Linked DNA regions of Homo sapiens: all the other regions are linked to region 4. Evidence: promoter capture Hi-C in 16 types of primary human blood cells and fetal thymus (Javierre and others, 2016). All regions are on one chromosome and are shown on one strand. Each heading gives the region's core, a stretch centred on a gene start or on the middle of the fragment in contact. The rest is flanking DNA. Distances are from core to core; before and after follow the strand shown. Region 1 overlaps FAM20B (FAM20B glycosaminoglycan xylosylkinase). Region 2 overlaps FAM20B (FAM20B glycosaminoglycan xylosylkinase). Region 3 has its middle 28 kb from the start of FAM20B. Region 4 holds the start of AXDND1 (axonemal dynein light chain domain containing 1). Region 5 overlaps FAM163A (family with sequence similarity 163 member A). Region 6 holds the start of ANGPTL1 (angiopoietin like 1). Region 7 overlaps TOR3A (torsin family 3 member A).

What was found. Contacts are between HindIII fragments. The CHiCAGO score rates a contact against its expected background, and 5 or more counts as called.
Region 1: a contact is called between a fragment that was not itself captured here and the fragment with the promoter of AXDND1 in region 4, in 17 of 17 cell types (naive CD8 T cells, naive CD4 T cells, activated CD4 T cells and 14 more). The highest score is 20.0, in naive CD8 T cells.
Region 2: a contact is called between a fragment that was not itself captured here and the fragment with the promoter of AXDND1 in region 4, in 6 of 17 cell types (non-activated CD4 T cells, activated CD4 T cells, naive CD4 T cells and 3 more). The highest score is 6.8, in non-activated CD4 T cells.
Region 3: a fragment that was not itself captured here is called in contact with the fragment with the promoter of AXDND1 in region 4 in 1 of 17 cell types (naive CD8 T cells); the score reaches 5.5 in naive CD8 T cells.
Region 5: a contact is called between a fragment that was not itself captured here and the fragment with the promoter of AXDND1 in region 4, in 1 of 17 cell types (naive CD8 T cells). The highest score is 6.0, in naive CD8 T cells.
Region 6: a contact is called between the fragment with the promoter of ANGPTL1 here and the fragment with the promoter of AXDND1 in region 4, in 2 of 17 cell types (total B cells and naive B cells). The highest score is 7.9, in total B cells.
Region 7: a fragment that was not itself captured here is called in contact with the fragment with the promoter of AXDND1 in region 4 in 17 of 17 cell types (activated CD4 T cells, naive CD8 T cells, neutrophils and 14 more); the score reaches 28.4 in activated CD4 T cells.

Annotation. Positions count from the first base shown.
Region 1 is chr1:179,069,702-179,072,401 of GRCh38, reverse strand. FAM20B (FAM20B glycosaminoglycan xylosylkinase) reads right to left here. Exons shown (of 8, transcript NM_014864.4): 8 at 1-489. The coding sequence ends at 258. Among named protein-coding and RNA genes, the nearest start is that of TOR3A, 11 kb to the left of the region's middle. The HindIII fragment of the contact is 6,644 bases long and covers 1-2,700 here.
Region 2 is chr1:179,049,556-179,052,255 of GRCh38, reverse strand. FAM20B (FAM20B glycosaminoglycan xylosylkinase) reads right to left here. Exons shown (of 8, transcript NM_014864.4): 3 at 1,891-1,977. Among named protein-coding and RNA genes, the nearest start is that of FAM20B, 25 kb to the right of the region's middle. The HindIII fragment of the contact is 2,855 bases long and covers 1-2,700 here.
Region 3 is chr1:178,996,392-178,999,091 of GRCh38, reverse strand. No RefSeq gene overlaps it. Among named protein-coding and RNA genes, the nearest start is that of FAM20B, 28 kb to the left of the region's middle. The HindIII fragment of the contact is 1,613 bases long and covers 524-2,136 here.
Region 4 is chr1:179,364,707-179,367,406 of GRCh38, reverse strand. AXDND1 (axonemal dynein light chain domain containing 1) reads right to left here and starts at 1,436. Exons shown (of 26, transcript NM_144696.6): 1 at 1,407-1,436; 2 at 801-1,003. The coding sequence starts at 897. RefSeq lists enhancers at 1,036-1,105, 1,486-1,885. The HindIII fragment of the contact is 9,843 bases long and covers 1-2,700 here.
Region 5 is chr1:179,811,179-179,813,878 of GRCh38, reverse strand. It overlaps FAM163A (family with sequence similarity 163 member A), which reads right to left. Exons shown (of 5, transcript NM_173509.3): 3 at 1,748-1,769; 4 at 689-803; 5 at 1-100. The coding sequence starts at 781. Among named protein-coding and RNA genes, the nearest start is that of MIR12116, 8.6 kb to the right of the region's middle. RefSeq lists a silencer at 560-785. The HindIII fragment of the contact is 3,773 bases long and covers 1-2,700 here.
Region 6 is chr1:178,869,792-178,872,491 of GRCh38, reverse strand. It overlaps ANGPTL1 (angiopoietin like 1), which reads left to right and starts at 1,415. Exons shown (of 6, transcript NM_004673.4): 1 at 1,415-1,751. All of the region lies in intron 8 of RALGPS2 (Ral GEF with PH domain and SH3 binding motif 2), which reads right to left. The HindIII fragment of the contact is 10,209 bases long and covers 1-2,700 here.
Region 7 is chr1:179,086,275-179,088,974 of GRCh38, reverse strand. It overlaps TOR3A (torsin family 3 member A), which reads right to left. Exons shown (of 6, transcript NM_022371.4): 4 at 886-1,064. Among named protein-coding and RNA genes, the nearest start is that of TOR3A, 5.6 kb to the right of the region's middle. RefSeq lists enhancers at 1-437, 438-1,339, 2,589-2,700. The HindIII fragment of the contact is 7,792 bases long and covers 1-2,700 here.

The DNA of each region.
Region 1 (2,700 bases), core at 116-2,615, 290 kb after region 4:
ACTATGATGCCCAACCCTAGAATGAGCAATTGCCGAGGAGGTGAGAAGGCGATTCAGCAGGAATGTCTCCATGCTCTGAAACTTGTGGTCTTTGCTTTAGTTTCTACTACAGAAAATACCAAAGACATCCAAGGCCACTCTGTCCCGTCACCAGAACTTGCTGCTGGCCACTTCCAATCCATCTCATACCATTTGGAATTGATTGTGCTGTTTCTCTATCTTTGTAAAAAGAAGTTTCACTTATTTTGTGTCGAGAATTACAAGTGTGAGAGAGGCATCCTGTCTTCCACCAGTACTGTGTCCATCCCAAACTGGTCGGTGCACTGCTTCACGGTGGCCAGGACACTCAGGAGCCGCTGGTCCACGGCGTCCAGATGAGGATCAGAGAGCACTGGGGAGATGGGGTCATGGGCCATGGCAGATTTTAAGGCAGACTTTAGCACACCATTCTTTAGGTAGTTCAGTCTGTTCCAGGTGGACACCCGAATGCTGGGAGAAAAAGTTATAGAACAAGGTACATAAAACTTCTCATTATCAAACGGAGTTGAAAGCCTGCTAGGCAGACAAAAGTGAAAAAATAATTAGGTAAAATCCTTTAACTAAATAATTTTTGCTTTAGAATTACCCCTACATAATGAGTAAGCCACATTACTATGTTTTGATATTGTTTCTGTGTAACTAATCAGAGATATATACAGAGATTTACACACATGTTCACTGCAGTGCTGTTTATAACAGGAAAAATGTTGAACAATCTGAATGTCTAACGACTGGGAAATAGTTAAATTATGGTTCATCCATTGAAAGGAATACCATGCAGCTGTTAAAAACAATTTTGAAAATTTAGTGGAATGGGAAAATGCCTATGATATGATGCTGGGTGGGGGGAAGAGGTTGGAGGAAAAACCTGTTTCACTTCAAATCTGTAGGAAAACAAAATACACATACATGGATTGGAATGAAGTACACTACAGTGTTAACAAGAGGATCCTTAGACGTTAATCCTTAGACGTTAATGGGTACTATAAACTTCCTTCTTCCTCATGTGTTTCTGAAGTCTAAAATAATTTCTACTGGGAAAAAATTATTATTATTATTTTTTTTTTGAGACAGAGTCTTGCTCTGTCGCCCAGGCTGGAGTGCAGTGGTGTGATCTCGGCTCACTGCAAGCTCTGCCTCCCGGGTTCACGCCATTCTCCTGCCTCAGCCTCCTGAGTAGCTGGGACTACAGGCACCCGCCACCACGCCCGGCTAATTTTTTTGTATTTTTTAGTAGAGACGGGTTTTCACCGTGTTAGCCAGGATGGTCTTGATCTCCTGACCTCGTGATCCGCCCGCCTCGGCCTCCCAAAGTGCTGGGATTACAGGCGTGAGCCACTGCGCCTGGCGGAAAAAATTATTTTAAGGATACCTATCTGCCTTATTTCACCAACTGCTACCATTTGAATGTCTGTCCCCTACAAAATACATGTTGAAATTGCCATTGTAACAGTATCAAGGTAGAGTCTTTTAAGAGGTCGTTAGGCCATGAGTGCTCTGCCCTCATGGGTGGAACTAATGCTGTTATTAAAAGGCAAGTTCAAGGCCAGGAGCGGTGGCTCACATCTGTAATCCCAACACTTTGGGAGGCCGAGGTGGGCCCTCAGGTTGGGAGTTCAAGACCAGGCTGGCCAACATGGTAAAACCCCGTCTCTACTAAAAATACAAAAATTAGCTGGGCGTGGTGGCAGGTGCCTGTAATCCCAGCTACTTGGGAGGCTGAGGCACAAGAATCACTTGAACCCGGGAGGTGGAGGTTGCAGTGAGCCAAGATTGTGCCACTGCACTCCAGCCTGGGCAAAAGAGCAAGACTCCATCTCAAAAAAAAAAAAAAAAAAAAAAAAAAAGGCGAGTTCAGCCCCTTGTTGCCCTCTCTCTTTGCCCTTTTGCCTTCTGCCATGTGACATGATGACACAGCAATAAGTCCCTTGTCAGATGCTGGCACCTTGATATTTAACGTTCTAGCCTCCAGAACTGTGAACCAATAAATTTCTGTTCATTATAAATTACACAGTCTGGCCAGGTATGGTGGCTCATGCCTGTAATCCCAGCACTCTGGGAGGCCCAAGGGGTCAGATCACTTGAGGTCAGGAGTTCGAGACCAGCCTAGGCAACATGGTGAAACCCCATCTCTCCTAAAAATACAAAAATTACCCGGGCATGGTGGTACATGCCTGTAATCCCAGCTACTTGGGAGGCTGAGACATGAGAATCACTTGAACCTGGGAGGCGGAGGTTGCAGTGAGCCAAGATCGCGCCACTGCACTCCAGCCTGGGCAACAGAGCGAGACTCCATCTCAAAATAAGATAAAATAAAATAAAATAAATTACCCAGTCTGTGGTATCCTGTTACAGCAGCACAAAACGAACTAAGACACCAACTATAGCATATCTTTTATTTAAAATCTGAGAAGAAAAGTTCTTAGCTCTCTGTGGGTAAAGGAGGAATTACTGGGTATGCAGAAATGTCTGATTCTGTAAAAGGCAGCCTGTTGTGCAGCAATTTAAAAGGTAAGAAAGACTGCTGCATAAAGCATGCATGGAAGGGACAAACAGGCACAGACGGAGTACAGTTATTTTTATTCTTAAATATATTACAAATGCCCAGAGCATCAGAGCTTCCTCTGTGAGACTAAGTTATTATGTTACTTCCTCTCAGCT
Region 2 (2,700 bases), core at 66-2,565, 320 kb after region 4:
CTTAACCCATTTTCTAATAGAGTTTTAACATACATATGTTTGTATAAACACATATTAAGACCATTAATATTTGTATAAACACATATTAAGGCTATTAATACTCAGATTACATTAGATTCAAGTGTTTTCTCCGTTTGTTGTTTGCTTTTAAATTTTGTCTCTTGCTATATAAGTTCATTATTTTATTTAGTCAAGACTATTGAATTTGTGATTTTTAAGTTATTGCTTTTATGTTTACAAAATCCTAATTCAGAAAAAGACAAACATTTCACCTTTTTTTTTCTGGTTTCCTTATAAATTCATTTTTAGGCTGGGCGTGGTGACTCACGTCTGTAATCCCAGCACTTTGGGAGGCTGAGGTGGGCGGATCACCTCGAGTCAGGAGTTCCAGACCAGCCTGGCCAACATGGTGAAACCCCGTGTTTACTAAAAATACAAAAAATTAGCTGGGTGTGGTGGTGCGTACCTGTAGTCCCAGCTACTCGGTAGGCTGAGGCAGGATAACTGTTTGAACCCAGGACGTCGAGGTTGCAGTAAGCCAAGATCAGGCTACTGCACTCCAGTCTGGAGGACAGAGTGAGACTCTGTCTCAGAAAAAAAATTTATTTATTATTTTATTTTATTTTATTGAGACAGGGTCCCACTCTGTTGCTCAGGCTGGAGTGCAGTGGTGTGATCACAGCTCACTGCAGCCTCGACCTCCCAGGCTCAAGCAATCCTCCCTCCTCAGCCTCCCCACTAGTTGGAACTATAGGCACACGCCACCACACTCAGCTAATTTTTGTATTTTTTTAGTAGAGACGGGGCTTCTCCATGTTGTCCAGGCTGGTCTTGAACTCCTGGGCTCAAGTGATCTGCCCACCTCAGCCTCCTAAAGTGTTGGGATTACAGGTATGAGCCACTGCATCCAGTCATAAATTAATTTTTTAAAACAAATATTGTTAGCAGTTTCTTTTAAAGTCAGCCAATATGGCCTTATGAAAGAGCTGGTCAGCAGAGTAACTGGGATACCAGACAGTTCAGCTGCAAGGTTCCTGACTAGTAACCTGCTGAAAAAGAAAAAAAAAGAATTTTCCTAGTTAACTTACAAACTTATAATTCACATCTATTTTCTTTCCTTTTTTTTTTTTTTTAAAGACAGAGTCTCGCTCTGTCGCCCAGGCTGGAGTGCAGTGGCACGATCTCGGCTCACTGCAAGCTGTGCCTCCTGGGTTCAAGCGATTCTCCTGCCTCAGCCTCCCAAGAAGCTGGGACTACAGGTGCCTGTCACCACGCCCAGCTAATTTTTTGTATTTTAGTAGAGACGGGGTTTCACCATGTTGCCCAGGCTGGTCTCGAACTCCTGAGCTCATGCAATCTGCCCACCTTGGCCTCCCAAAGTGTTGGGATTACAGGCATGAGCCACTACGCCTGGCCCTTTCCTTTTGTAATTATTCTGGTTTTTGAAGCTGTGCATAGTTTGTATAAAGAATAATAAAACTCATATTTCATGCTATATGTTTCCAGCACATGGAAATAAGTCAGCATTACTTACTTAAAACAAATACATAACAAAACAACAGGATGGCTAGACCCAATTAACGACCAGTTCAATTCAGAGATTTAAGTTCAAAGTTTATTTACCAAGAATATCTTCACTGATGATAATAACAGAGCAGGCCAGAAATGAAATGACCTAAAGAAGCATGGAAGTAAAATACTTCAGTATTCCTGGTGCCAACCAAATTATGAGACTCATACAAGTTTAATGGAACTAGTCAATTAGCTATCTAAAATCGATAACAAGTTATTTATTAGTGTTGCATCCTTCTGAAGGAGTCCACGAGTCCTCTCCAAGAAAGATTTTTGAAAGCAAACAAAATGAACATAAGCTGCTGTGATCATACGCACCTGTCCAAGTGAAAGGCTGCTACCTCTGCATTGTGTCTATCATAACCAGCATACGGTTCCCCTTCCACCACATGGTCTCGGCTATACCTGCAAAGTGAATGGGAAGCACAGATGTATACGTGGATTACACCAGTAACAGGTGACAGCACAAGTGGTAGAATACACCCATTAGCAAGCCTGATTCTGCTATAGTCACCTTCTCTGTCAACCCTGCAAACAACTGTGGATTAGCATGAATTGCCGGTAGATGGAATGAAGATGAGGTAGAGAAGGAAACTAGAATTCTCTATCTACGTCACCAATCATTCTAAGAATAAAACATGGAAGCTGTCATTTTTGCCCCACTAAAGGGCTTTTGATGTAGTTTTAGTACAGATAAAAGGTAGTTTTCTGGAAGGCAAGGACTGTCTTTGTATTGCCAGCACAGTGTTAAGCACATAGTTGGTGCTTAATAAATGTCTACTAAAATGTTTATTAGACTGACCTGAAGAAATGAAGAAAAATGTGTAATTAAAACTTTTGCTGGCCAGGCACGGTGGCTCACACCTGTAATCCCAGCACTTTGGCAGGCCAAGATGGGTGGATCACCTGAGGTCGGTAGTTCGAGAACAGCCTGGCCAACATGGCGAAACCCCATCTCTACTAAAAAACACCAAAATTACCTGGGTGTGGTGGTGAATGCCTGTAATCCCAGCTGCTCAGGAGGCTGAGTCAGGAGAATCGCTTGAACCTGGGAGGCGGAGGTTGCAGTGAGCCGAGACTGTGCCACTGCACTCCAGCCTGGGCAACAGAGTGAGGCTCTGTCTCAAA
Region 3 (2,700 bases), core at 81-2,580, 370 kb after region 4:
CTAAGCTTTCTGCTGATTTGACAGCTAGGACAGCAGAAAGGGAATAGAATGGATTCTTCTAATGTGCCTTTACCTTCTTCTTTCTACTTGGGTGCCACAGAGTGACAAAGTCACACATAGATGTAAATGATGCACTGTTAACTGTGACCAAAGGGCTGATGTGAGTCCTAATATTTCAGAGGAAAACAGATCTGAGATGTCCTGGGAAATAATAAAGGGTTACATCACATCGTGCCTGGGCTGTGGGTGTGTGAGGGCCAGGGCTCTTCTAACAGGCAGCAACCAGGGCCTAACCCATTGCTTTCACTACCCCCATGCACGTTCTCATTTATGATATTATTTCGTTTAACAAGATTCTTCCTTTAGCAATCAGGCAAAGATCATGGCCTAGTGTTTTCATGCAGGGATTTCTTCTGGGCATTTTTTTTTGGGAAATCATATATTTTTTTCAAATCCCAAAACCTGAGAAAAATGAATTTGATAAAACAGGCAAAAGTATGATAGTTCTATGAGCACTGAAGCTTAATCAACATAGGGAAATTTCCGATTTGAAGGACTCCATTGACTTCAAGTCAAAATTTGGAGCAGGAAAATGCTGACAACTCCAAATTGAAGGTTAAGGTGGACATTGTTGGGAATGGGCACAGGAATGCATAGGAGAGACGTGGTCATCACATAATCTCGCTTGTGTATAGCTGTTGCAATATTATGAGGGCATGTTTGTGGCTCTACTTGGTTCTATGAGTTATTGTTGCAAATAAAATAATATTAATAGGTTTATGTATTTTTTATACACACTTTTAACAAATCCTATGAGTGGAGTTCCAAGAAATAACAAGTTTTGAAAACAAATATAATTTCCTAAATTGGCAATTTCAAAGCATGATTCTGTGTAGTTCTGTTCACTTTGCTAGAAGATTTGAACATTGCATTATTCAATACAGGCATACCTTGTATTATGGCACTTTGCAGAAATATCGCATTGGTTTCAAATTGAGGGTTTGTGGTAAACCTGCATTGAGCAAATCTATTGGTGCCATGTGCTCACTTTGTGTCTCTGTGTGACATTTTGGTAATTCTTGCAATATTTCTAACTTTTTTATTATTGTTTTATCTGTTATGGTGATCTGTGATCAGTTATTTTTGATGTTATCAGTGTGATTTTTTGTTGTTAGTTTTGCTTGTTTGTTTTTTTAGAGACAGCCTTGTTATATTGCCCAGGCTGACCTTGAACTCCTGAGCTCAAGCAATCCTCCTGCCTCAGCTTCTCAAGTAGCTGGGACTATAGGCATGCATCACAGTGCCTGGCTTTAGTATAATAGTTTTGAAGCTCCACAAACTGCATCCATACAAGATGGTGAACTTAATTGATAAATGTTGTATGTGTTCTGACTGCTCCACCCACCAGTCATTTCCCCATCTCTCTCTCTCTGTCCCTTCCTCCTCCCTCCTTGGGCCTATTCCCCAAGACACAGCAATACTGAAATTAGGCCAGTTAATAACCTTACAATGACCTCAAAGTGTATGAGTGGAAGGAAGAGTCATACATCTCTTACTTTAAATCAAAAGCTAGGAATGATTAAGCATAGTGAGGAAGGCAGGTCAAAAGCTGAGATCGGCTGAAACTTAGGCCTCTTGTGTCAGACAGGTAGCCAAGTTGTAAATGCAAAGGAACAGTTCTTAACAGAAATTAAAAGTGCTATTCCAGTGACCATACAAATGATTAAAAAGCAAAACAGCCCTATTGCCGATATGGAGAAAGTTTGACTGGTCTGCACAGAAGATCAAACTAGCCACAACATTCCCTTAACCCAAAGCCTAACGCAGAGCAAGACTCTAACTGTCTTCAATTCTATGAAGGCTGAGAGAGGTGAGGAAGCTGCAGAACAGTACTTGGAAGCTAGCAGAGATTTGTTCATGAGGTAAATCCATCTCCATCACATAAAAATTCAAGGTGAAGCAGCAGGTGCTGATTTAGAAGTTGCAGCATGTTATCCAGAGAAGATCCAGCTAAGATCACTGATGAAAGTGGCTACACCAAAAACATTTGCAATGTAGGTTAAATAGCCTGTTTCTAGAAAAAGATGCCATCTGGGACTTTTATAGCTAGATAAGTCAATGCCTGGCTTCAAAGCTTCAAAGGACAGGCTGACTCTCTTCTTTAGGGCTAATGCCCCTGATGACTTAAAGTTGAAGCCAAGGCTCATTTGCCTTTCTGAAAATCCTAGTGCTGGCTGGGCGCAGTGGCTCACGCCTGTAATCCCAGCACTTTGGGAGGCCAAGGTGGGTGGATCATGAGGTCAGGAGATCAAGACCATCCTGGCTAACACGGTGAAACCCCATCTCTACTAAAAATACAAAAAAATTAGCTAGGCGTGGTGGTGGGCGCCTGTAGTCTCAGCTACTTGGGAGGCTGAGGCAGAAGAATGGTGTGAACCCAGGAGGCAGAGCTTTCAGTGAGCCAAGATTGCACCACTGCACTCCAGCCTGGGTGACAGAGTGAGACTCCATCTCAAAAAAAAAAAATAATAAAGAAAAAGAAAAAGAAAAAGAAAATCCTAGTGCCTTTGAGGGTTGCTAAATCTACTCTGTTTGTGCTCTATAAATGGAATAGTTGGAGCCCATCTGTTTACAGCATGGTGTACTGAATATTTTAAGCCCACTGTTGAGACCTACTGCTCAGAAAAAGATTCCTTTCAA
Region 4 (2,700 bases), core at 187-2,686:
AGTAGCTGGGACTACAGGCACGAGCCACCACGCCCCCCCTAATTTTTGTATTTTTAGTAGACAGAGTTTCTCCATGTTGGCCAGAATGGTCTCAATCTCTTGACCTCGTGATCCGCCAGCCTCAGCCTCCCAAATGGGATTACAGGTGTGAGCCACTGTGCCCGGCCTATTTATTTATTTATTTTGAGATGGGGTCTTGCTCTTGTCTCCCAGACTGGAATGCAATGGCTCGATCCTGGCTCACTGCAACCTCACCTCCTGGGTTCAAGCGATTCTCTTGCCTCAGCCTCCAGAGTAAGCTGGGACTACAGGCGCGAGCCACCATGCCCGGCTAATTTTTGTATTTCTAGTAGAGACGGGATTTCATCATATTTGGCCAGGCTGGTCTCGAACTCCTGACCTCAAGTGATCCGCCCACCTCGGCCTCCCAAAGTGCTGGGATTACAGGCGTGAGCCACCGCGCCCTGCCTCACTATTACTTTTTCCAAAGTTCCTTAAAGCCAAAGACCAGGAACCAAAAAATACGTAACTATTGATATTTAAAATAGGTTGAATTTAAAATCATATATAAATCAACATTTGAAAAAAAGTATAAACTGTATTTAGATGGAGTAGTGAAACAGTACTCTGACTCAAAATACTGTAAAAGGAATGACTTCTTGCTTTATTTAAGCAAGTGTGTTAGAAAAATGTAGCCAATCAAGGTATTCTGAATATCAGATTTAAAAAACCGGTGAATGGAAGGTGATTTCTGTCTTACGGCCATGACTGTTTATGACTTCAGAATCAACGAAGTTTACCTCTTGTCCCTTCCTTGGCTACAGACACTTTTAACTTTTTGCTCTCAGATGTTGATGTAGAGTTTAGCGGGGTGGAGGGCGTTTTCGGGAGAGACATAATAAACAATGCCTCCTATCTCTTTAGTAATTTGAAATAGTCCTCCGGAAAGCTAATTTAGACACAAATCAGCGCCGCACTGGGACTTGCAGGCTGCCACATAGTCCTGCAGGCAGAGGAAAAAAGATTTAAAAAAAAAAAAAAAGATGACAACTATTGAGTACTTAGGTTCAGATCGCAGTTTAGAATTCATCTAGCATGGTTCTCCTTCTTCGGGGCGACCTCTATGTTCTGGGGTTATGTGTAGCGACTAAGAAGCCTTAGTGGACCGTCAGGTCGGGGTCAAGGAGCAGGGCAGGAAGGACCCGCTCGGCGGACCCCGCAGACCGCCGGCACCCCTGGTGGGGGACACTCGCTGCAGGCGGCTCGGCTGGGGACCATACCTTCCCCACAGGCAGCGCTCTCGCGCGCCAGTTCCACAAACTCGCGAGTTGGGCAGGCCTCGCACTGCTTCTTGGTTTAAAATGACGGGAAAGGGACACCCGCGATCCTACCCACACATTGCGTACCCGCCCAGCATCCGCTCACTTCCTCCTTTGCTGGAACGCCTGTTTGTCGTCATAGAAACCCAGGGCCCCGAGGTTTAGCGCCCTCCATAGGGGCTGCCTTCAGCGGTGCCGGCGGAGGAGGGAGACAGCTAAGACAATCCCTACACCCTCTTGGAGTTTCTTATGTTCTAAGTCACAGCATAGGTTCAGTAGCAAAGGAGAAGAAAAACGTTTAATCCCGCCGTTGTCACGGAATCCGAAAGTGTCTCACGCCGGGGCTTCCTGCCGCGGGCCAGGCCAGTGCGCAGGCGCCGGTGGGGGTTAGCTCGAGGGGCCGACCCCTGTAGCCCGTGACGCACGCGGGTTAAGCAAGGGTCTTCTGAGTTGTTTCCATCTTTCTAGCTCTCTTTTTTGTTGCTTTGCATATTTTTCTTTCTCTTTCTTCCTCTTTTTCTTTCTTTCTCTTTTTTTCCCCTGAGACGGAATTTCCCTCTTGTCGCCCAGGCTGGAGTTTAATGGTGCGATCTCGGCTCACTGCAACCTCCACCTCCTGGGTTCAAGCAATTCTCCTGCCTCAGCCTCCCAAGCAGCTGGGACTACAGGCAGACGCCACCATGCCCGGCTAATTTTGTAGTTTGTTTTTTGTTTTGTTTTGTTTGAGACGGAGTCTCGTTCTGTCGCGCTGGCTGGAGTGCAATGGTGCGATCTCAGCTCACTGCCACCTCCGCCTCCCAGGTTCAAGCGATTCTCCTGCCTCAGCCTCCCGAGGGACTACAGGCGGGGGCCACCATGCCCGGCTAATTTTTGTATTTTTAGTAGAGACGGGGTTTCACCATATTGGCCAGGCTGGTCTCAAACTCCTGACCGCGCCCGCCTCGGCCTTCCAAAGTGCTGGGATCATAGGCGTGAGCCACTGCGCCCGGACGCTTTGCATATTTTTCTAAAAGCCAGACTCAGGGGGATGTTGGGTAATAAGAAACGCTGGGTCCCTTATTGGGTAAGCCGTCCAGTGCTTTACATTTCGGTCACGTCTTCCTTGGACCCTTAAATGCCTCCCCCCAGAGCACAAGGAAGGCCTCCTGGGCCCAGATTTTTCACCCCCTTGGGGCAGGGAAGGAGGATTGAGCTTAGGTGGAACCAGCTCAGGTATAATTGTCGGGGCTTCTGGCGTGAAAATCTGCCCTCAGGAAAGAATACCATCAGCGGCCGGTGGCTCACGCCTGTAATCCCAGCACTTTCTTAGGCCGAGGCGGGTGGATCACGAGGTCAGGAGTTCGAGACCAGCCTGACCAACATGGTGAAACCCCGTCTCTAC
Region 5 (2,700 bases), core at 179-2,678, 450 kb before region 4:
AGGCATTGCAGGTGGGGCCTCTGGGATGCGTGGGAAGGTCGTGCTCCCGCTCCTCCTCCTCGTCTGCAACCTCGGTTCCGCTCTTCTTGCAGCAGTAATACTGTGCGGAAGGGCAGAGGGATGCCTGAGAGGGTGAATGCTCCCCCCGCCCCATGCATTTTTGAGCGTGCACAGGTGCCCCTGTCCCCTGCTCCATGGAGAACCTAGTGCCAGGCACTGAACCCCAGGGGCCTGCTCCACAAGTTTCTAATCCCAGCTTTGCAAGGCCAGTACTGCTTTCCTTTTCCCCTCCCACCACTCCTCGCAGTAACTCCAGGCTGTAGTTGAGCGGGGCAGGGACACACACATCATATTGAGGACAGGGCTGGAGCTGCTGGCGGCAGCTTTCAGAGCCTCCCCAGAATGGTGCTCTTCCCATGCTCCTGAAATCTCAGAGGTGCAGGAGACACAACCCAATGACCCCGTATCTTTCCAGCACACTTTCTGTGTGCTCTGAGTGGGCAGGCTGGGGGGCACTTAGCTCCCTTCCGACCAGCCCCAACTCCCATCCTCCTTGACTTACGCCTGCTACATTCCATAGCTTTGGGCTCTGTGGGCCCTGAAGTCGGCCTCCAGTTTCTGCCCCCATAATGAAAAAGAGGTTTGCTGGTGGCCTGGCAGCCTCTGGCTACGGGTCCCGGGGACTGACCTGGAGCCTGCAGTAGCACAGGACGGCAATGATGCAGAGGAGGATCACCGTAGCTAGGATTCCGCCAGTGATCACAACCGTTCCCGCTGTCATCCGCCCGGCGCCCCATCAAACTCTGCAAAGATGTGCGGAGGGCTGAGGACCAGCTGTGGCTGCAGCCCTGGGCTGGGCCGGGGGGAGTCTTCCTGGAACTGCCCCGAGGCTGGGGCAGGGGGCCTGAGAGCAGCAGGTGCCGGGAGGGCCAGGCCCCAGGGGTTTCCTGAAGGCTGAGGACGACTGTGGCTCCAGACTGGGCCAGCCTAAGTGGGCGAAGTTGAGTACCCAGTTTCAAAAAGTTCTCACGATCTTTCCCCTTTGGTGCTCTTCTCGCCTTTCCTCTCCCGTCACACCCTTCTTAGCTCCCGCTTCTGCGTGGCTGCAGACACAGAGGAACAGCTGCCGCTGATTGCGGGGCTCCTCCCTGTGTGGCATCATGCTAAGCACCCCCACGCATCTTACTACATCCTCGCGATAACCCTTCGGGGCAGTTATTAGCTATCCCTACCGCACGCATGCTGAACGGGGCTGCGAATAATTTGGCTGCGATTCCACCCAGCCCGTTCATCCCAAAGGCTGTGCTCTTGATCCCCGCCCTCTTGGCACACACCCCAGTGGTCCCTGAGCCTTTGGCCCGGGCTGGCGGGGAAAGGGCCACATCTCGAAAACACCAGGTGGCTCTTCTCTGGCTCAAACCAGCACTTCTTTTGGGGGTATCTCTCTTCTCCTTCAAACCCTCCTGGAAAACAAAGGCAAGGCGAGCCCAGAGGGAGTGGTGTGTGGCATTCTGGGCCCTGGAAGGCTGTGGCCAAGCTGGGGAGACTGGTCCTGGCTTCTGAGGCTGAATGAACAGGACAGAGGCAAGCTCTGGGCATGAGGCTGTCATGGCTTCAGACAGATTCTCCTTTTAGGTCAGTGAATGGGGATTTCTGAGCCTCCCAGGTGCATTGGGACCAAGGGGCAGGAGGGTGGGGAATGGGAAGTTGGCATCTTGGAGATGGAAAAATGACTACGATCACTTACATTCAGTAAAGGGAACGGCGACCTGCAAGACAACAGAAAGGACAGAGATGTTGGAAGAAGAGAGTTACTCACTGAAAAAGGCCAGAAGGGTTAGATGATTCCCAGACAACCCTCATTTTGCTTTCTTCGCTGTGTGGCATATCATCAGTGAGCCCACAGACCCCAAGTCCAGGTCTCCAGCTGGGTCTCCAGCTGCTAGTAGATAGACATTTCAGTGGATGTCCCAGTGGTCATCTCAAACTCAGTTATGACAGGTTAAAGTCACCACCCTGCTCTCCAAATGGACTCCTCTCCTCCGACCTGTCTGGAGGCTCTGTTGGTGGCTCCACCAGAGCTGTCCCGAAGGGCTTTGCAAATTGTTTATTACTCAAAGGGCAAGTGGGGGCTAGAACCCAACTGCACTGTGCTCACAAAGCTATGCACCCTGGTGTGTTCACCAGGTAAAAGGGGGTGCCTTTATCTCTTTACCCAAAGATATCACATGTCCACCACTGTCCTCTTAGAGGGCTGCACCTGCCCGGCAGTGTGGCTCCAAATCCACTCCCGCTCTGTGGACCAGCAGCGTGGGCATCACCTGGGAGCACCATTAGAAAGATAGCATCTCAGGCCCCCCACAGGCCTAATGAGTCAGAGTTTGCATTTTAACAAGGTCCCAATTGAGTAGGTTGCACATTAGAGTTTGACAAGCCCATGGGACGTTCCCCTAGCTGCCCAGAATTTAAACTCCTCAAATTCTTCTTTGGCTACCCCAGTCTTCTGTCCCCCACACCAGTGAAGACTCATCACCTCTCAAGCTGCACTGGCACAATGGTTTCCTAACAAACCTTCCCAGTTTTGTCTCTGAGTACCCTTCCTGCCACCAGCTGTTAAGCCTTCCTTCATACCCCTGGGCCTTTCTGTGACTCTCATGCACCACATTGCCTGCAGGATACATTTATCTGCCCATAAACTTT
Region 6 (2,700 bases), core at 166-2,665, 490 kb after region 4:
GCCACAAGCACAGCTGAGAAGGTGCAGGCAGATCCCTTTAAATTAACCAAAAGGATGCCAACTTGCCATAAACTTCATTTCCCTCCAGTATCTTACTACTGATTTACTTCACTGATTTATATTACCTGCTCCATTCTTCTTGTGAGCATTTGCCTTTCTAGGCCCTTGTGTTTGCAACCTCTGGTATACCTATATATGGCATAGGAATTCAAATAAATGATTCTGTGAAAGAGGTAGAAAATAAGCTCAGACTTTAAATAAAGGATGTGGATCAACAGTGTGGCCTAACAGAAAGAGAAACACAGCACAAGCTACAGCAATAAGGAAGGGAAAGCACAGGTATGTAGAGAAAGCCCAAAAGTTTTATCTAGAAGCAGCTTACAGCAACTAGGTAATCAATGACAGAGAGTGTGGCATAATGCTTTGGCATTAGATTCAAATCCCAGTTCCACTACTTAGTACTTAAGTGCTAAGCTAAGTTACTTAAGCCTAAGTTTGTGTTTCTTCAGCTACTGAGTTATTTAACATTTCTTCAATTAATGAAATACAATAGTATAGTTGTACTCAACACTTATTCATTTCTTCCACCACCTTATTTCATAGCAGAAGAACCTTGCCAGAGGCAGGTAAAGTGATTTGTCTAAGTTCACATAGCTGGCATAGAGTCAGAGCTTCCTTGTTTTTTACTCAGTTCAGGGTTATGTTTGTTTTTAAACCACACCACATCAATTAATAACAAGAATGACCTTTTACAGAGAGGAGAGGTCATTTTGTAGAATAGGAGGATATGACATTATGTAACACCAGAATGTAATATTTAAAAGTCTTAAGCATCTGAAAGAATTTCACTTATGTTTGGTAATTATATATAAAGGCTGTTTTATCTTAAGACACATTACACAGTAAGACATAACATACTACAACAACATCAAGTTTCTTGTAAGTTTAAAACCTTCATTAGCAACTTAGTAAAATGTTTACAAATTCTTCTAGGCTATAAAGAGTATTTATTACATTATTTAGGTGGCTGCCTCCTGACAAAGTCTAGCTCTTGTTCTTTGTTAACAAAAACCAAACTCATCAGCCTGCAACTACTTCTAAGTGAAGTGGAGCACTATTTTTTTTTTCGGTATTCAACTTAAAAGATCTCTGGCCAGCAGACTAAAATGTTTGTTTTATAATTGCCCGCTGAACTATGATAGTTTGTTTCCAGATGGTGCCCTTCCTTCAACCTGCACACAATCTCTCCTTGTTCAAAACTATTCAACCTCCTGCTGATCCCACCCCCCTATTTAAGGCTACAAAGAGGAAATCCTAAGGAGATTCCCGCCCCCAGTCTCCAGCAATTTTTGGTGATGTAATATGTGGGCTGAACTTGAGTCTACTGAGAAAGAGGGAATCACTATTCAGGGGTACTGTATATACAATCTGGGTCAGCTGCAGCTGGTTACTGCATTTCTCCATGTGGCAGACAGAGCAAAGCCACAACGCTTTCTCTGCTGGATTAAAGACGGCCCACAGACCAGAACTTCCACTATACTACTTAAAATTACATAGGTGGCTTGTCAAATTCAATTGATTAGTATTGTAAAAGGAAAAAGAAGTTCCTTCTTACAGCTTGGATTCAACGGTCCAAAACAAAAATGCAGCTGCCATTAAAGTCACAGATGAACAAACTTCTACACTGATTTTTAAAATCAAGAATAAGGGCAGCAAGTTTCTGGATTCACTGAATCAACAGACACAAAAAGGTATTTAATATTTCTTTTATTTAAAAATATTATGTATAGCAAATGCATAACTATTTTATATTTGTAGTAGAAATTTCAGAATCTTTTACTAAACAAAGACCTTTGGAATATACTACAGTTTATCTCATCTGAAAAAGGTTTTATCTTGCAACTTGACATAAAAACATTAAGTACTGTGCAATGGTTAATGCATTATTTGAGGTTCAATTTAATGATGTTTAGTGTATATGATTACAGACTGATACATGCATGCCATGCTGGGTTTCTGAAAACAAGTGCTTTAGTGACAGTAGAAAGAAATTTTAACAAGTAACAGATTAAATGTATAAGGCTTACAGCACAATGATTAAAAACAAAGGAATACAAACTAAATAGTCGTGAACACAATTAGTTTCTCTTCCTGCAGCCACAGTGTGTGTGCTGAAGATATACATAAACTGTTGGATTTCTCAGTGTAGTCATAAAACAAAGCTAAGATACAAAAATAGTTGAAAGTCTTTGCAACAAAATCTCAATTACAGTATAACCAAATATTAAGCAGAAATTCTTGTACAGATTTAAGATTAATCTATGGCATTTCTTGTTCCAACTCAAAATTTTAAATAGCTTTCCAGGCTTACATGTAATAGTAATTTAATTTGGATGACAGAAATTAAACTTGCTACAAATGGAATCACTTGGAAAAGCTAAGTTATTGATATACACACAAAAGCATTATGTAAGTGGTATTAACAATAGAAAATAAGAACCCAGAAGATGTAATTAAATTCATGACTAAAAGGCCAAAAATATGTAATATTTTAGGTAGAAATAATTTTGTTAAGCACACATAAGAGGTTTCCTTCAATATTCTATCTGGGAGCTTTTTTTACATGCATTATAAAAACTATTAAAGATAAAATTACTCGTTACCAATAGTATGCCTTAAACCAAAGACACTTAAGTTTGT
Region 7 (2,700 bases), core at 1-2,500, 280 kb after region 4:
CCCAGCAAGCAAGTGCTGGCCTGGGGAAGGCGAGGCCGGAGTGGAGTTGGGAAGGGAGCACTCAGTTTGACTCCTACCGAGGCTCGAGCTGTTGTGAAGCCTTCAAATTGGGTCAACAAGGGCCCAAACTTGACTTGTAACAGACACAGGACTCCCCCAGTTGGAGCCTCCGCAAAAAGATGAGGTTGGACAAGTTATTTCTAAGTTGGCTTCACGCAAAGATGTCAGTGAAAGCACAGGAACCTCAGTGCAGTGATTCAGTGACTGGGTCCCGCATGGTAGCGTCACAACTGAACTACAGGTACTCAGAGGAAGCATGGGTTTCTCAACCCGTATACCCTGGATTTTAAGCCAGTGATGACTTCTCATAATCGGAGAAGAAACAGACTTCCAAGGCTGAAGGAAGAAATGGCCGTGTTGGACTTGATGGGAGACTATGCCGTTCTCTAACCAGGCTTGCCTTGGGAATTTGTTTCAAAAAATCTGTCACCCAGATTGGAGTGCAGTGGCCCGATCTCAGCTCACTGCAACCCCCACCTCCTGGGTTCAAGCGATTCTCCCACCTCAGCCTCCCGAGTAGCTGGGACTACAGGCACATGTCACCACGCCCAGCTAATTTTTATATTTTTTGTAGAGATGGGGTTTCACTATGTTGCCCAGGCTGGTCTTGAACTCCTGGACTCAAGGGACCCGGCCGCCTTGGCCTCCCAAAGTGCTGGGATTACAGGCGTGAGCTACCACAGCTGGCTGCTGCTTTCTGTACCAGAGTTTGTGCTGTTTTTTCTTGAGGAAAGGTTCTGAACCTGGGGGCGTGTGGAAGCCTCCACTGCCAGCTAGTATCTTCCCCTCCCCCAGCCCTCCTGACTATTGTTCCCCAGAACCCACCTGAGAAACAGAAAGATAGTCCATGGAGACTCAGCCCTGTGGCCCTCAGGGGCCCGGCGTTCTAAGTGTGGCCCAAGGACCTCCAGCAGCCCTGGGTGCAGCTTCTCCGCTTCATCGAAGATGAACAGGGTCTGGTGGCAGAGCTGCTGCGTCTCCCGGATCTGGCTCATCAGCTGCTCCTGCACGGGATATAGGGAGCAGCTGGGGAAGTGGTGACTCCTTCCACCTCCGGCCTTGAGGGCGTGGTTTCCCCTGGGCATGTGCAATGGACCCCCTGGGGCTGGGTTCCCCACCCCCCGCCCCCCGCCAGAACCTATCAAATCCAAGCTCTTGGGGAGGGCCTAGGACATTTGCATCTGACCAGCTCCCAGGTGATTCTCAAGCACCCTGAGGGTTGAAAGCTAAACAAGGTGAAGCCAGCTTGGGGACTAGGAGACAGCCTAGAAAGGAGTGGGGAGAAGCCCTTCTGCCCTTGAGAAGGGGCCCCTGCTCCAGCCCTGCTCTCTCCTCTCCAGGACTACATCCCATCCAGGAGCTAACAATGTCCACACACCCGCAAACTTTCATTACTTCTACAACAAAAACATCCAGGCGCAACTTCCCTGTTTAAGCTCAGGGTCTATTCCCAGGGGGTGGATAGGAGTTGAGCTTTCATACAGGGGTGATGGGCAAAGAGAGGCTCATGTGCCCAGAGGCAGCCACAGTCCCCTGCCCTGAACTCCCGGGTGCAGAGCGCCCACTGGCACCCTGGCTGGGCCGAGATCTCAGGGGAGCAAGCCTGCTGAAGGACTGACTGGGCCTAACCAACATCCAACTTGGCTCCTGCAAGCTGTGGAGGGTTCCTTGCCCCAGGCAAGACAGTAAACCCTCAAGTGAAAAGATGGTTCTTTGCAATGTTCATCGAAATGGGCAGGGAATATATTATTCAGGGCCAGCTCCCACTCCAGAGCCCACACTCCCTGTCTACTGGGTGCACCTTTGTGGGGGAAAGTGTGAGGTGCAGGGCTATGCACATGCCAGTTTTCACAGCAGGGAAGCTGGGGCTGCAGCAGTCTTGCCACAGTCTAAGCCAGACAGTTCTGCCCGGAAAGGCCCAGCTCAGCCTGCCCCTGCCCTCCAAAGCCATATGGAAACTGCCAGGAGACGCGGGCAGCCTCTGTCCTCAGACGCTGACATAATCTTCCCAGGTGAACACATTCCAAATATTAAAACAAAGCCAAAGACAGGTGCAGTCAATTCTGTCAGGCTCTTCTGGTATGTTTTCAATACTACATGGCTGAATTAGTAGAAGAAACCCAAAATGGCAGAACAGCCAAGGAAATTTCTGTCCATCCACTTGCTGGTATATAATAAGCTGATACGGGAAGACATGAAAAAATCAGGTAAGATAGGATAGGCCTGTTTTCTTTTTTTTTTTTTTTTTTGAGATGGAGTCTTGCTCTGTTGCCCAGGCTGGAGTGCAGCGGCACGATCTCGGCTCACTGCAAGCTCCGCCTCCCGGGTTCACGCCATTCTCCGGCCTCAGCCTCCCGAGTAGCTGAGACTACAGGTGCCCGCCACCACGCCCAGCTAAGTTTTTGTATTTTTAGTAGAGACGGGGTTTCACCGTGTTAGCCAGGATGGTCTCGATCTCCTGACCTCGTGATCCACCCACCTAGGCTTCCCAAAGTGCTGGGATTACAGGCGTGAGCCACCATGTCCGGCCAATAGGCCTGTTTAAATTTTAAAAAGGCAGGATATACAACTTTCTGTCCAACGTAGTTACAATGACAAAGAGCCTGGGGAAAGGTTCCGCACCAAAGGCAGCACATAAAA